Linked DNA regions of Homo sapiens: region 1 is linked to region 2. Evidence: promoter capture Hi-C in 16 types of primary human blood cells and fetal thymus (Javierre and others, 2016). All regions are on one chromosome and are shown on one strand. The core of a region is centred on a gene start or on the middle of the fragment in contact, and the rest is flanking DNA. Distances in the headings are between cores, read along the strand shown. Region 1 has its middle 21 kb from the start of NUDT4B. Region 2 holds the start of H2AC18 (H2A clustered histone 18).

The links. The method cuts DNA at HindIII sites, captures the fragments that hold promoters and counts their contacts. A CHiCAGO score of 5 or more calls a contact.
Region 1: a contact is called between a fragment that was not itself captured here and the fragment with the promoter of H2AC18 in region 2, in 4 of 17 cell types (M1 macrophages, M0 macrophages, M2 macrophages and 1 more). The highest score is 12.3, in M1 macrophages.

The regions. Positions count from the first base shown.
Region 1 is chr1:148,766,739-148,772,861 of GRCh38, reverse strand. It overlaps the pseudogene SEC22B3P. Among named protein-coding and RNA genes, the nearest start is that of NUDT4B, 21 kb to the right of the region's middle. RefSeq lists enhancers at 1-503, 504-1,063. The HindIII fragment of the contact is 2,490 bases long and covers 394-2,883 here.
Region 2 is chr1:149,840,738-149,846,807 of GRCh38, reverse strand. H2AC18 (H2A clustered histone 18) reads left to right here and starts at 4,058. Exons shown (of 1, transcript NM_003516.3): 1 at 4,058-4,590. The coding sequence starts at 4,110. The coding sequence ends at 4,502. It overlaps H3C14 (H3 clustered histone 14), which reads left to right and starts at 5,600. Exons shown (of 1, transcript NM_021059.3): 1 at 5,600-6,070. The coding sequence starts at 5,651. The coding sequence ends at 6,061. It also overlaps the pseudogene H2BC19P and a transcript of H4C15 not described here. RefSeq lists enhancers at 720-1,483, 5,759-6,070. The HindIII fragment of the contact is 2,631 bases long and covers 2,773-5,403 here.

The DNA.
Region 1 (6,123 bases), core at 389-2,888, 1.1 Mb after region 2:
GCCTTAATACTTTCGGTAAAATACTTCCAGGGACTAATTAATGTTTTCCTTTTTTCCTCTTTGACAGCATTGGATTCAAAGGCTAACAATTTGTCCAGTCTGTCCAAGAAATACCGCCAGGATGCGAAGTACTTGAACATGCATTCCACTTATGCCAAACTTGCAGCAGTAGCTGTATTTTTCATCATGTTAATAGTGTATGTCCGATTCTGGTGGCTGTGAAATAATGAATACAGTCACTGGTAAGGGAGAACCTAGAACCCAGTAGGTGTATATTTTCAGGAAACTGAGCTCACAGAGATGTGTATTAGAATCCAAGTGGAACTTCTGCCTCTAAAGACCTTGCAAGAAAAGAGATGTCCTGAAAATGAAAGGTTGCACCTCATTTAATGAAGCTTAACCCTATGTAGAAAGTCTCTTTCGGGGGCAGAGGCTTTCTCTGGGTGCCAAGCCATATATATTAGGGAATAGTAGATTGTTATTTCGTTTTTTCCCTCCCAGTGCATTTTAAAAACAGCACTGGCTGGGCATTCTCATTCTCTGATGGAGCCATCAATGAGATTTAACTTAGTCAACCTGTGCTAGCAACATTCTGAAATTCCTTCAAAGAAGGCAGTCCTTTGGGAAGGTGTTTTTTTTTTTTTGTTTTTTTGTTTTTTTGTTTTTTTTTGACTCTAATCAACATTCCTTTTGTTGGTGACATTTGTGATTTTCAGTAATCTGAGTTTTTGATGGCCTTTTAAACAAGACTCCAGTATGTGAAGGTTAATTGCTGTGCTCCACAGATCTTGTCTATTGGCCCCTGTAGAAAGTTAACCTTTGTTGTTTTCCTTTTATAATTTGCTTATTGCACAATTGCTTTAGGGTAAGTGAATTATATTAAGATGCCTTGAAATTATAGCACTCCTTGATTAAGAAGCTAAAATGTTTCTCTCATTTACTCCTTAAACAAAAGACTTAAATTAGTTTGGGTCATTATTACTTTTATTTTGCAGCATTTGGTTTGTTATTAGTGTAAGAGCAAGTATAGGATATGGAGAGGCCCCTGGCTTCATGAGAACAAAGGCAGGCCCAGGTTATAATTACAGCTTTCTCCTGCCCCTTCTTTACTTTCTCTACCACAGTTTTCTCCGCTGTTTGTTTTCCTCTTGCCACAATTTGCTAACACTTAAAAAATTTTCCTGCACCCAGTAGTTTCATATCCTGTAGACATCCTCTTAGGACATTCTCAAATTTCAAAATAAAAAATATTCATCTATGTAGTTAATTAAAGTTAAAGTTTCTGCAGATCAACTACTCAAACTACTAAATACATTTACCTGAGAAAAAGTCTCTGAGAGCACTTCATTCCTGTTTTAGTTCGTGTAAATTCTCTGAGAATGTTCTGGAGATAGATAACTCATTTACAGTGGTTTCTATTAACTAATTAAAGTACCCATGATTTTTTCCTTTTCTGCTCAGGGATGATGGAGATTTCCTTTTACCTTTTTTAATGGGGTAAATTTTTTAATGGGGAAAATAGGCCTTTTAAATATTATTGCCAGGGTCTGCAATATAACTTAAAATTCCTGTACATACTGCAAATATTTCTTTAAATTGCACAGGAAAATGAGCGAACTTTTTATTTCTTAATATCTTTGGCAAAAAACTTTAACCAGTAAGCAATTTTATAACCCTGAGGGATCATCAAAGATACTATCCTGATTCCTGGTAAGGAAAAATATATTATTTCCTTATAACAAGGCAAGGAGAAATGCTATTTTATTCCTGATAATTTATATAGCTAGAATAATTTTTTTCCTTTCTTTTATGGACCTAAATCTGCCAATTGGGAATTTTGTGCATGAAATATGAAGTTACTTTTTATAGATAATCAGTGCTTTTAAGTCCCTAAAAGGCTCCTGCTGAAGTAATGATGAAGTTCATAATAAAAGCCTTTGAAAGGCTGAAAACCTACATAGTGGTACCATAGTATTTGGAGCTTCTATAGGAGTGGAGAGGGGCAGCTCATTGTTGAGAGTTGCATGCTGCAACCTAATGGTCAGCAATGAAAGAAATACTTGTAGAATGTTCACTTCAGTGTGAAGTTTTGTTATCTAGTTAATTTATATACATATATCCTTTGTAGATACATTTCTATCTAATCTTGTTGAGCTAATTAAGAAATAAGGGGTGGGGTAATTGTCAACAAAGGGAGAAGAAAGTGGTTTAAGATCAGGGCAGCAGAAAAATTAGAGAACAAGAATATCATAATATGGCTCCTGGTTTTCTTTATAAGAGGCAGTGGGAAGATCTGACTAGATGAAATGTATCATCAACCAAACTGGCATCTAAAATAGAATGGGATAAATACTGTATGGGGTTATTGGAGGCATATTAAGAAAGGACACCTAATTTATTTTGGGAAGAAGTATGTTAAGAGAAGACTTTCTAGAGAAGGAGAATGGGGCATTCTAGGAAGAGTCAATGGCATGTGCAAAGGCATGAATAAAGACAGTGAGGCATGTTTTGGAAATGTAACAGCTTGATTCAGCTTAGCCCATAGGGTAAGCATAGACAACAGAGGAGACTTGAGGAATGAGAACTAGATGGGTACACTATCATAAAGGGACTTGTCTATCATGCTGAGGAGTTTAGACCATCTTAATGGTAGTGGCCAAGGATGGCATCAGATTTATAGTTTCAAGTGATCATAATATTGGCATAAAAGATATATTAGGGAGGAAGCCTGAAGTAGGGAGATGAAAATAAGGAGCCATCAAAGGCAGAATGAAACTTAGGCAGATTTCAAGTGATTTTCAAAAATGATGTGATCAGAGGTACCAGATAATAACTATTACATAACACTTTCTTTGTTAGGAGCTTATTTCTCACACTGACCAAAGCTTTTGAAGTAAGTACTCTTTACACCACTATATAAATAAACCTTACAAAGGATTCTGCTTTGAGGCATGAGAGAGTTAAGTCATTTGCCCAAAGTCACAGAGTTAGAAAGTAATAGAGCTAAGATTTGAACCTAGGCAGTTTGGCTCCAGAGTCTGTGCTCTTACACTATATTACCACCAAGAGGTCAAATAAATACCAAAGAATGTATTTTCGAATTTAACAATGAGGAACTTAATCATACAGGCAGAAGTAATTCCAGAGCACCGGAGACAGAAGCCAGATTGCCATATGGGTTAAAGAGTGTGTAAACCACTAGGAAGTAAAGACATAGAACTACTCTCACAAGTGCTTTTCTGGTTATTGTGACGCTGAACTTCATGGCTTGTTTTAATTAAGACATCTTACAAGTGTCAAAATTTGGAAATATTTGGACACTGTACACTCTGGTTATTTAAATATCTAACAGTGGTTCTTGAGCATTTTGAGAAACCTTTGAAAATCTGATGAAAGGTATGTGCCATTACTCTAGAAAAATGTTCCTGTGTACATGCACATCAAGTATCACATACTGTTTCAGGCTGTTCAAAGACTACAAAGTCTGTTCATGACCTAATGGTCCATGTTCCCTCAGTTAAGAGCTCCAGAGATAAAGGATGTGGAACTCAAAGGTAAGTACCCAGAGCCTTGAAAACTCCATTTGTGACTTGGAAGAATTCTACAATTTGAATTAACTTTGTGGAGAGAGATATATTTTTGAAAAATTGTGTGTACCAAAAAAATTTCATATCAAATAATATTTTCCTGTAGTGCATTCAAGGATCTGGTTCCACAGCAAAAAATTGTTTTGGTCTCAGTTCCTCAAAATCACATTTAAGGAGCTTGAGATTTATATTTTCTACTTAATAAGTCTTACAAAAGCAAGTTAAGAAGGAAAATGGACAATCATTTCTGCACATGTAGGGTTTAATAAAACATGTATAATGAAATATTTCATATTTTAAATTTCCACCTTATTGGTAGCTTTCATGACAAAGGGCTAGGGTGCTGGTGGCCATACAATTAAGGTTTTTGGTTAGTTAGTTAGCAGAACTAACTGACTCCTACCTGGTGGGTTTTTCTTTTGTTTGTTTGTTTGGTTGGTTGGTTTTTTCCCAGATGGCTCAGGAGGAAGGTAAATAGCAGTCATTGTATGTGTGACAGAGTTTGAGATAGAATGAGCATATTGAATCCCACATCCTGTTCTTATTACTGTCAGGCAGCGTTGACCTAGCAGTATAAAACTATCTGAAGCAATGTAGTCACTCAGTTCTCATAAAGTTTATTTCAAGTACTGTAACAATTCATGTTTGGATTAGAAAAGTCACTAGAAATTTGACTTCCATATAGTAATCTATACTTTTTTCTCTCATTTCCTTCATTTTTTGAGCCGTAAGTGTAAGGCATTTTGGTGGTATTATTACAATGGTTATGAGGAGTTTCTTTGCTTGCCCAAGGTCACATAGCTAGCAAGTTAAAGTAGATTCAAATCCAGGCCTGCTAGATACCAAATTATTATTTAAGAGTACTTTTCACTACTCCTAAATAATGACACAGATATGTTTGTCTTACACATTTCACTTTATTGTCAAGTTATTAGTATGTTTATTTTCAAAAGGTATTTTTTGCAATTTCTTTTTATTATTCCGTACTTTTTAAATTTACTTCATTATCACGTCTTCCTTTATTCTTTTTAAATAGTTTTTGCTTTTGTTATTTTGTTTTCCCTTTTTTACTCTTGGTTTGTAATACATCTTTCCTTATTTGCTCCTTTCTCATTTGATCTCAATGTTAATCCAACTGTTTTCCACATCTGATTCACTAAAATTTTAGCCCTTTAAAAAAAAATTCCTGTTTTTCCTATCTCCTTTTGCCCATTCTCTTCTCCTTGCCTCTCTTCTTTTATCTTTTTCCATTTTACTTTCATTTTTTGTTTCTCTAGATGTTGTTTTGACATATGAGTTAATGTACTGGTACAATTTTGCATCTGTAAATTAGAGCTTCAGAATCAACTGAGTGTATTTATTCTTTATTTTTAGGCCTCAATTTATCTTACCTTTTATTGATTTTATAATATACTATACTCTTTCATTTTAGTCTGCATATGTTAGCCAAAGAAGATATGCCCCTGTTTTAAGAAATCTCTGTAAAAAATGTCAAGTGTGACAAGAATTCTTCAAGAAACAAGCTCCTCTAGTTTGTCTTCTATATTTAGAGCTTCAACAGTTACCTATATTACTGGTAACTCCCAAATATACCTTCAAACTTGTTTTTTGGGCCCAAGTTTTTTGCTTCATAGATATCTGTTTTGAATATCCCATAAATAATTGCATCTAAAGCATACCTCCACTCCATTGTTCTCACAGATAAAACCAAACCTGTGCTGCTTCTTATATTTCTAGTATTTAAGCGTCACCTGCCACCCCTTTACCTGAGCTACAAGTCACGCATTGCATTAGACTCCTCTGCTTTCTTCTTTCACCTCTAACTAGACTATTCACCAAAAATTTTTAAATATAACTTTCAAAAGGTATTTTATTACATCATTTCCATCCTTTATGTTTGGGTTCGAGCCCTCATTAACTTTAACATGGATTCTTGGAGTACCCTCCTTACTGATTTTGTTACACGTGTCCCTCTTTTAGTCAGTACTACCATGATAATACCATGGATAATAATTTTTTCATTTTTATTTTTAGTCTTGCTCTGTCGCCCAGGCTAGAGTGCAGTGGCGCGATCTCAGCTCACTGCAACCTCCACCTCCCGGGTTCAAGTGATTCTCCTGCCTCAGCCTACTGAGTAGCTGGGATTACAGGCACCTGCCACAGCTCCTGGCTAATTTTTGTGTTTTTAGTAGAGATGGAGTTTCACCGTCTTGAACTCCTGACCTCATGATCCACCCTCCTCGGCCTCCCAAAGTGCTGGGATTACAGGCATGGGCCACTGCGCCCGGCCAATAATTTTTCTTTTTTTTGTGCTAATCATACTACATTTTCTTTAGAATAAAAGATCACATACTTCAGTTTGCCATTCGCAGTCTGGCCCCATTGTGCCATTCTAGACTTACCTCCTGCCACTCCCCACCAGCTTTGTTTTGTCTTAGCCACACAAAATAATCTAGCGTCTCTAACCAGTCAAACATTTTACCTTGTGCCTTGGCTCACTCTGTGCCTTTTCTCCAGAATATCTTTCTGTGTACTT
Region 2 (6,070 bases), core at 2,809-5,308:
ACTGAATCAGCATTAAATTTGTTAGGTGTAATAATGTGATTGTAGCTATTTAGGAGAATATCCTATTTTTAAGAGACATGCCACCATATTTAGGGAGAAGTGCCAACATATTTGCAGTTTATTTTCAAATGGTTCAGAGGCTGTCTGTGTACATGAGAAGACAAAGATAAGGCAAATGCAGCAAAATTGTAATAATTGGTGAATCCAGGTGAAGGGACTATGGCTGGTCTTTGTACTTTTTTTTCCAACTTTTCTGTAGGTTTAAAATTTTCAAAATAAAAAAATGGGAAATACTTTAAAAATTGTAATCAAAGACATTAGTACAGAAACTTTCATAATGTATTTTATTTTTACAGTAAAATTAATTTATGTAAATTGATAGAATTTTACTAATTTCACTCCCAAGTTACATTAAAAGGCTTACATATGTTTGATAATAGCATATGTAAACTAGAACTCTGAATGATATCCATTGGTCATAATACGTACTATGTAGCGGTAATGGTGACTTTTGTGATTGCACAAGTCTAGAGATGCCCCAAATGACATTGACTTAGACATCTGGTTATTCTAAGGCTGAAACTGAAGTTGAATAGAAGGTTTTAGTCAAATACTGAGATGAAAACTGAGGCAGTCCTGGCGGGGGGGAGTGAGTGTGTGTGTATATATACACACATAGACATCATGCTTCTAAACATTTACAGAAAGAAAGGGTAGATTATCTACAAAAAAATAAGAATCAGACTGATATGAGATCTTACAAACCTAACCCCCTTCTCTTTCCTAAACTCCAGATTCTCATATTTCTGACTTCCTATTTGATATTTACACTTCGATATTTACCAGGAGTCTTCAACATTTTGTTCAAAACAGTACTCTTGGTTTTCTTCCTCCAAGACTACTCCTTACTCATATCAGCAAATAGCAGCTCTTTTCAAGTGCTCAGTGTAAAAACCTACAATTAATCCTTGATTTCTCTTTCAGTCAGCCTATACTAAATCAATTTCATTTAAAATATCTCGGCTACTACTCTGCATCTCCACTGCTACCATCGGCCTCTCCAGTCACATTCTCCAAGAGCACTCTATCTCATTTAAAAGACAAAATCTCTGCAGTGGCCTGTGATGCTCCTTAATGGCCTACATAATCCAGCCCTCAAGCACCTCCGTGATCTCTGTAAAACTTTCCCTTGGTCACTGTGCTTCAGCCACATTAACCAGCTTGCATATTTCTCACATTCACCAAGCTTGTTCCTGCCTTGGGGCCTTTGTACTTACCATGTTCTGTTCTGAGAATACTCTGCCTCAAGATATCCTACAACTATCTTACTGTATTCAGCTCTCTGCTCAAGTATTAACTGATGAAACCTGTCATCCCTACTCCACTCCATGTTCTGCTTTACTTAACAGCAATTGCACATATGGCCCCCTGAATAATATACATTTAGTCACTTATTTTTACTTATCTGCTAATTAAAATGTAGACTTTTTCTATTCTGTTTACTGCTGTATTCCCAGCATGTTTTATCCGAATGTGCAGTGGTTTCTTTTCTTCTCCCTTATCGTGGGAAGTGATGTGCACAAATACACATAATGGAGCCTGAATGTCATATTGCTTTCATACCTGTGTGAATTTTGGTAAGAAAGGAAAAGTAGCGATTGACAGGTAATATAATTACATTAAGTCACTCTCATAGTTAGCTGTTTATTGCTTTCCTGCTCTTATTCTCAGTCCCCAGGACCAAATGTTGACCACTACCTTCCCCCACATATAATTAGGTTATTTACCGAACGCCATGCAGGTGGCTGTTAAAAGGAAGATATATACTTACCTTATAAACTCAACTTTTCCCTGTTGTCTTTCTGTCTCACCCCTACCTCCATGCTTTAAATTAACTTTTCAGGCTTAGGCCTTATCTCTCAGTAGAGCCATATAAGGTATGTGTAAAAGCAGGAAAATGTTTCCTGGGGATGAAGCTTTGAAAAGCTTTTTTTTTTTTTTCTTTTGGCAATAAAATAAGGTAGATTCAGCACAATACCTAATAACTAAAAAATCTGTTTTTAATTGGGTGGGGCAGACAGCAAGTGTGTCATCCTGGAAGATACTATTTGGGATTTTATGTAGGTACATAAGAGAAAAAAGTGAACAAAAGCAAGGGGCTACCAGGACGCCGCAGTATGCTTAACATGTATTTTCTAAGTTTGTATTATGCCTTTATCTTGGTACTTTTATCTTCTGTTCTCACTTGATCTTTTTGAAATGTATTTTAAATCCTAATAAAAATATATAAAGTCTGGAATTAATAAAGGATTAAATGAAACTTTTGTATATCTCACTGAAATTCTCAGAAAAAAGGGGGGTGTGGGGAGGGGGAATTGCCTGGGGTAGTGAGTGAAAATTGTGACCAGGTTCTTACTAAGGAATATGGCAACTGCATAATCAAATGTCAGTGGTTACCAAACTTATGAATCACCTGGTGTTGTGTCATAGATTGTCTATCCTTGCCTCTCGCCCCCAGTGATTTAGATCAGTGGAACTATGTGGGGTTTAAGAAATATACAATATATATTTGTATATATTTGTGTGTCTCGAAAGCTTCAGGGTTAAATAAGTTTTAACTGTTTAGGAAACACTATTGTTTTAGGTATCCAGTCTCAAAGACGAAGGCCTTTAAAACTTACTTAATTTTTCATTACATTTCTTGCCCAGAAAATTGTAAAATACCCAACGATAACAATGGGGAATTGTCTATCAGCACTTGACTAAAAAGCTTTACTATCCATGACAGCAGCCTTTGCATTACTCAATTCTGATGGCATTTAACGTCTTGAAACCCAGAAATAAATACCTATAGACTCACAGTACCTGAAAGGAATACCAAATTGAGACAAGAGAGCTATATAAACCAAAAATTGCTTCAACCACAGAATGGAGGTCTACAGGTGCGGAAGGAAAGTTTATATGGTGAGGCTTGGTCGCAAAACTATTAGGAATATTTTCAGGTTACTACACAATTTTGCGAGCTCAATATGCAGTTAACACTTTTTCCCTTGACTCTCCTGAGCAGATTTACATTGACCGCACCCGTAGCATATCGTCTCACTTTGGAAAAGGCAAATTATGTGCACATGACCCTGTCACTACAAGGTAGTTCTCGACCAAGCTACATCTTATAGCTTTATCTTATATTCCTCTCCCATCATCTGCAGGAAAAGGGATAGGTGCTGAGGGAAAACCCCTAAGTAGAACTCACAGTAAGCAGTGGGAAAACAGCTTATTTCACTAACGGGGTTAAGTGGCCCTGAAAAGAGCCTTTGGAGACAAAGCAGCCGGCGACCCGCGGAGGGAGGGAGGGAGGGAGCGAGCGAGCGCCAGGTCCCGGCAGGGACTCACTTGGAGCTGGCGTACTTGGTGACCGCCTTGGTGCCCTCGGACACGGCGTGCTTGGCCAGCTCGCCGGGCAGCAGCAGGCGCACGGCCGTCTGGATCTCCGGGACGTGATGGTGGAGCGCTTGTTGTAGTGCGCCAGGCGGGACGCCTCTCCCGCGATGCGCTCGAAGATGTCGTTGAGGAAGGAGTTCATGATGCCCATGGCCTTGCACCAGATGCCGGTGTCGGGGTGGACCCGCTTCAGCACCTTGTACACGTAGATGGAGTAGCTCTCCTTGCGGCTGCGCTTGCGCTTCTTGCCGTCTTTCTTCTGGGCTTTGGTGACGGCTTTCTTGGAGCCCTTCTTGGGAGCCGGCGCGAACTTTGCAGGCTCAGGCATGGCCAGACCCAAGACCGACACCGACCCCCGAGAACGCAAGCAGAGCGGTAGGCTCGGGGTCTACCGGAAACGACTGTGTACTTACAGAGGCTGTGCGCATGACGCTGCGTTATGGTTCGCGAGTTTTCCGCGGCGCGCAATGCGAGGGAGACGAGATTATGTAAATGAGTGGATTCTGGCTGAGCTATCCTATTGGCTATCGGGACAAAATTTGCTTGAGCCAATCAAAGTGCTCCGTGGACAATCGCCGTTCTGTCTATAAAAAGGTGAAGCAGCGGCGTTTTCGGCGACTTTCCCGATCGCCAGGCAGGAGTTTCTCTCGGTGACTACTATCGCTGTCATGTCTGGTCGTGGCAAGCAAGGAGGCAAGGCCCGCGCCAAGGCCAAGTCGCGCTCGTCCCGCGCTGGCCTTCAGTTCCCGGTAGGGCGAGTGCATCGCTTGCTGCGCAAAGGCAACTACGCGGAGCGAGTGGGGGCCGGCGCGCCCGTCTACATGGCTGCGGTCCTCGAGTATCTGACCGCCGAGATCCTGGAGCTGGCGGGCAACGCGGCTCGGGACAACAAGAAGACGCGCATCATCCCTCGTCACCTCCAGCTGGCCATCCGCAACGACGAGGAACTGAACAAGCTGCTGGGCAAAGTCACCATCGCCCAGGGCGGCGTCTTGCCTAACATCCAGGCCGTACTGCTCCCTAAGAAGACGGAGAGTCACCACAAGGCAAAGGGCAAGTGAGGCTGACGTCCGGCCCAAGTGGGCCCAGCCCGGCCCGCGTCTCGAAGGGGCACCTGTGAACTCAAAAGGCTCTTTTCAGAGCCACCCACGTTTTCAAATAAAAGAGTTGTTAATGCTGGCCACTCTCAGTCCAGCGTTCCTCAGTAGTGAATAGCGAACCTGGAGCTGACGGGACGGGACGGGACGGGACGGGACGGGACGGGGCGGGGCGGGGCGGGGTGTGTGTGTGTGCGCGCCGTCTTCCATCTGGAGCACGTAACTGCCTTGGCTCTTCGATGAGTGGGTCCCCAGTCCTAGGACTTCCCAGGGCAGGTGCAGGCACCAAACGTCCTGGGCGCCGCCACGGTCCGCTCCACACAGTCACAAACACCAGCGCCGCGGGCAGTACCCAACGCGCTGAAGTGTTGCGCGCGGAGCGCGCGCTTCCCTAGTGGTTTCCGCAGGCTATGGCCGGACACTTAGACCTAGTCTGGCACCAGCGGGACGTGCTCCTCGTCCCCACCCCCGATGGGGAGGGCCCTGAGCGGGTAGTGCTCGCTAGTGTGGCGGAGCTGGGTCTTGGCTTCACTGAGCTGACTTAAGTCTTAGTTTCTGTTTTGTTTTCCAAAGCGCCCTGGCGGCGGAGAGTAAGGGCCTCGGAGGCGGAATCTTGCGTCCTGGGGGCGGGCACCTCTCCCACCCAAAAGGCACCCGACAGGCGAAAAACGATCCGCCAAGTAGCAACTGGGGGCGGGGGGCAAATGGAAGAATGAGGTTCCACGCGGGAGCTGTAGGGCGCAGCAAGAAAGGGGGGGTATTGCGGGCAGTGTGTTCTAAGGAAGCGAAGGGCGGAAAGGGAACAATCTGACAAAGCTGCAATGGAAAATGACTTTCACCCTGAAGGAAAGGGGAAAAACAAGCTTGCGAAACTTCGCCAACTGGTAAGTAGAAAGTGAGGCGGGGTGGGCGGGATTAGGGAGGAATCTGCCCAAGCCAACCGGTGACTTTAGGACGGGTGACGTCACAGCCAATGGACAGCCAGCGCGGGATTTTCAATTATTGTTCCGCCCAATCGGGAAAAGACTGTGCTTATAAAGACGGCTGCGGCGGGGCTAGGAGCTCGTTTTTCTCCCCGCCGCTGCGCTGGTAAGCCTGTGTTTTGGTTCGCTATGGCCCGTACTAAGCAGACTGCTCGCAAGTCGACCGGCGGCAAGGCCCCGAGGAAGCAGCTGGCCACCAAGGCGGCCCGCAAGAGCGCGCCGGCCACGGGCGGGGTGAAGAAGCCGCACCGCTACCGGCCCGGCACCGTAGCCCTGCGGGAGATCCGGCGCTACCAGAAGTCCACGGAGCTGCTGATCCGCAAGCTGCCCTTCCAGCGGCTGGTACGCGAGATCGCGCAGGACTTTAAGACGGACCTGCGCTTCCAGAGCTCGGCCGTGATGGCGCTGCAGGAGGCCAGCGAGGCCTACCTGGTGGGGCTGTTCGAAGACACGAACCTGTGCGCCATCCACGCCAAGCGCGTGACCATTATGCCCAAGGACATCCAGCTGGCCCGCCGCATCCGTGGAGAGCGGGCTTAAGAAGTGGCG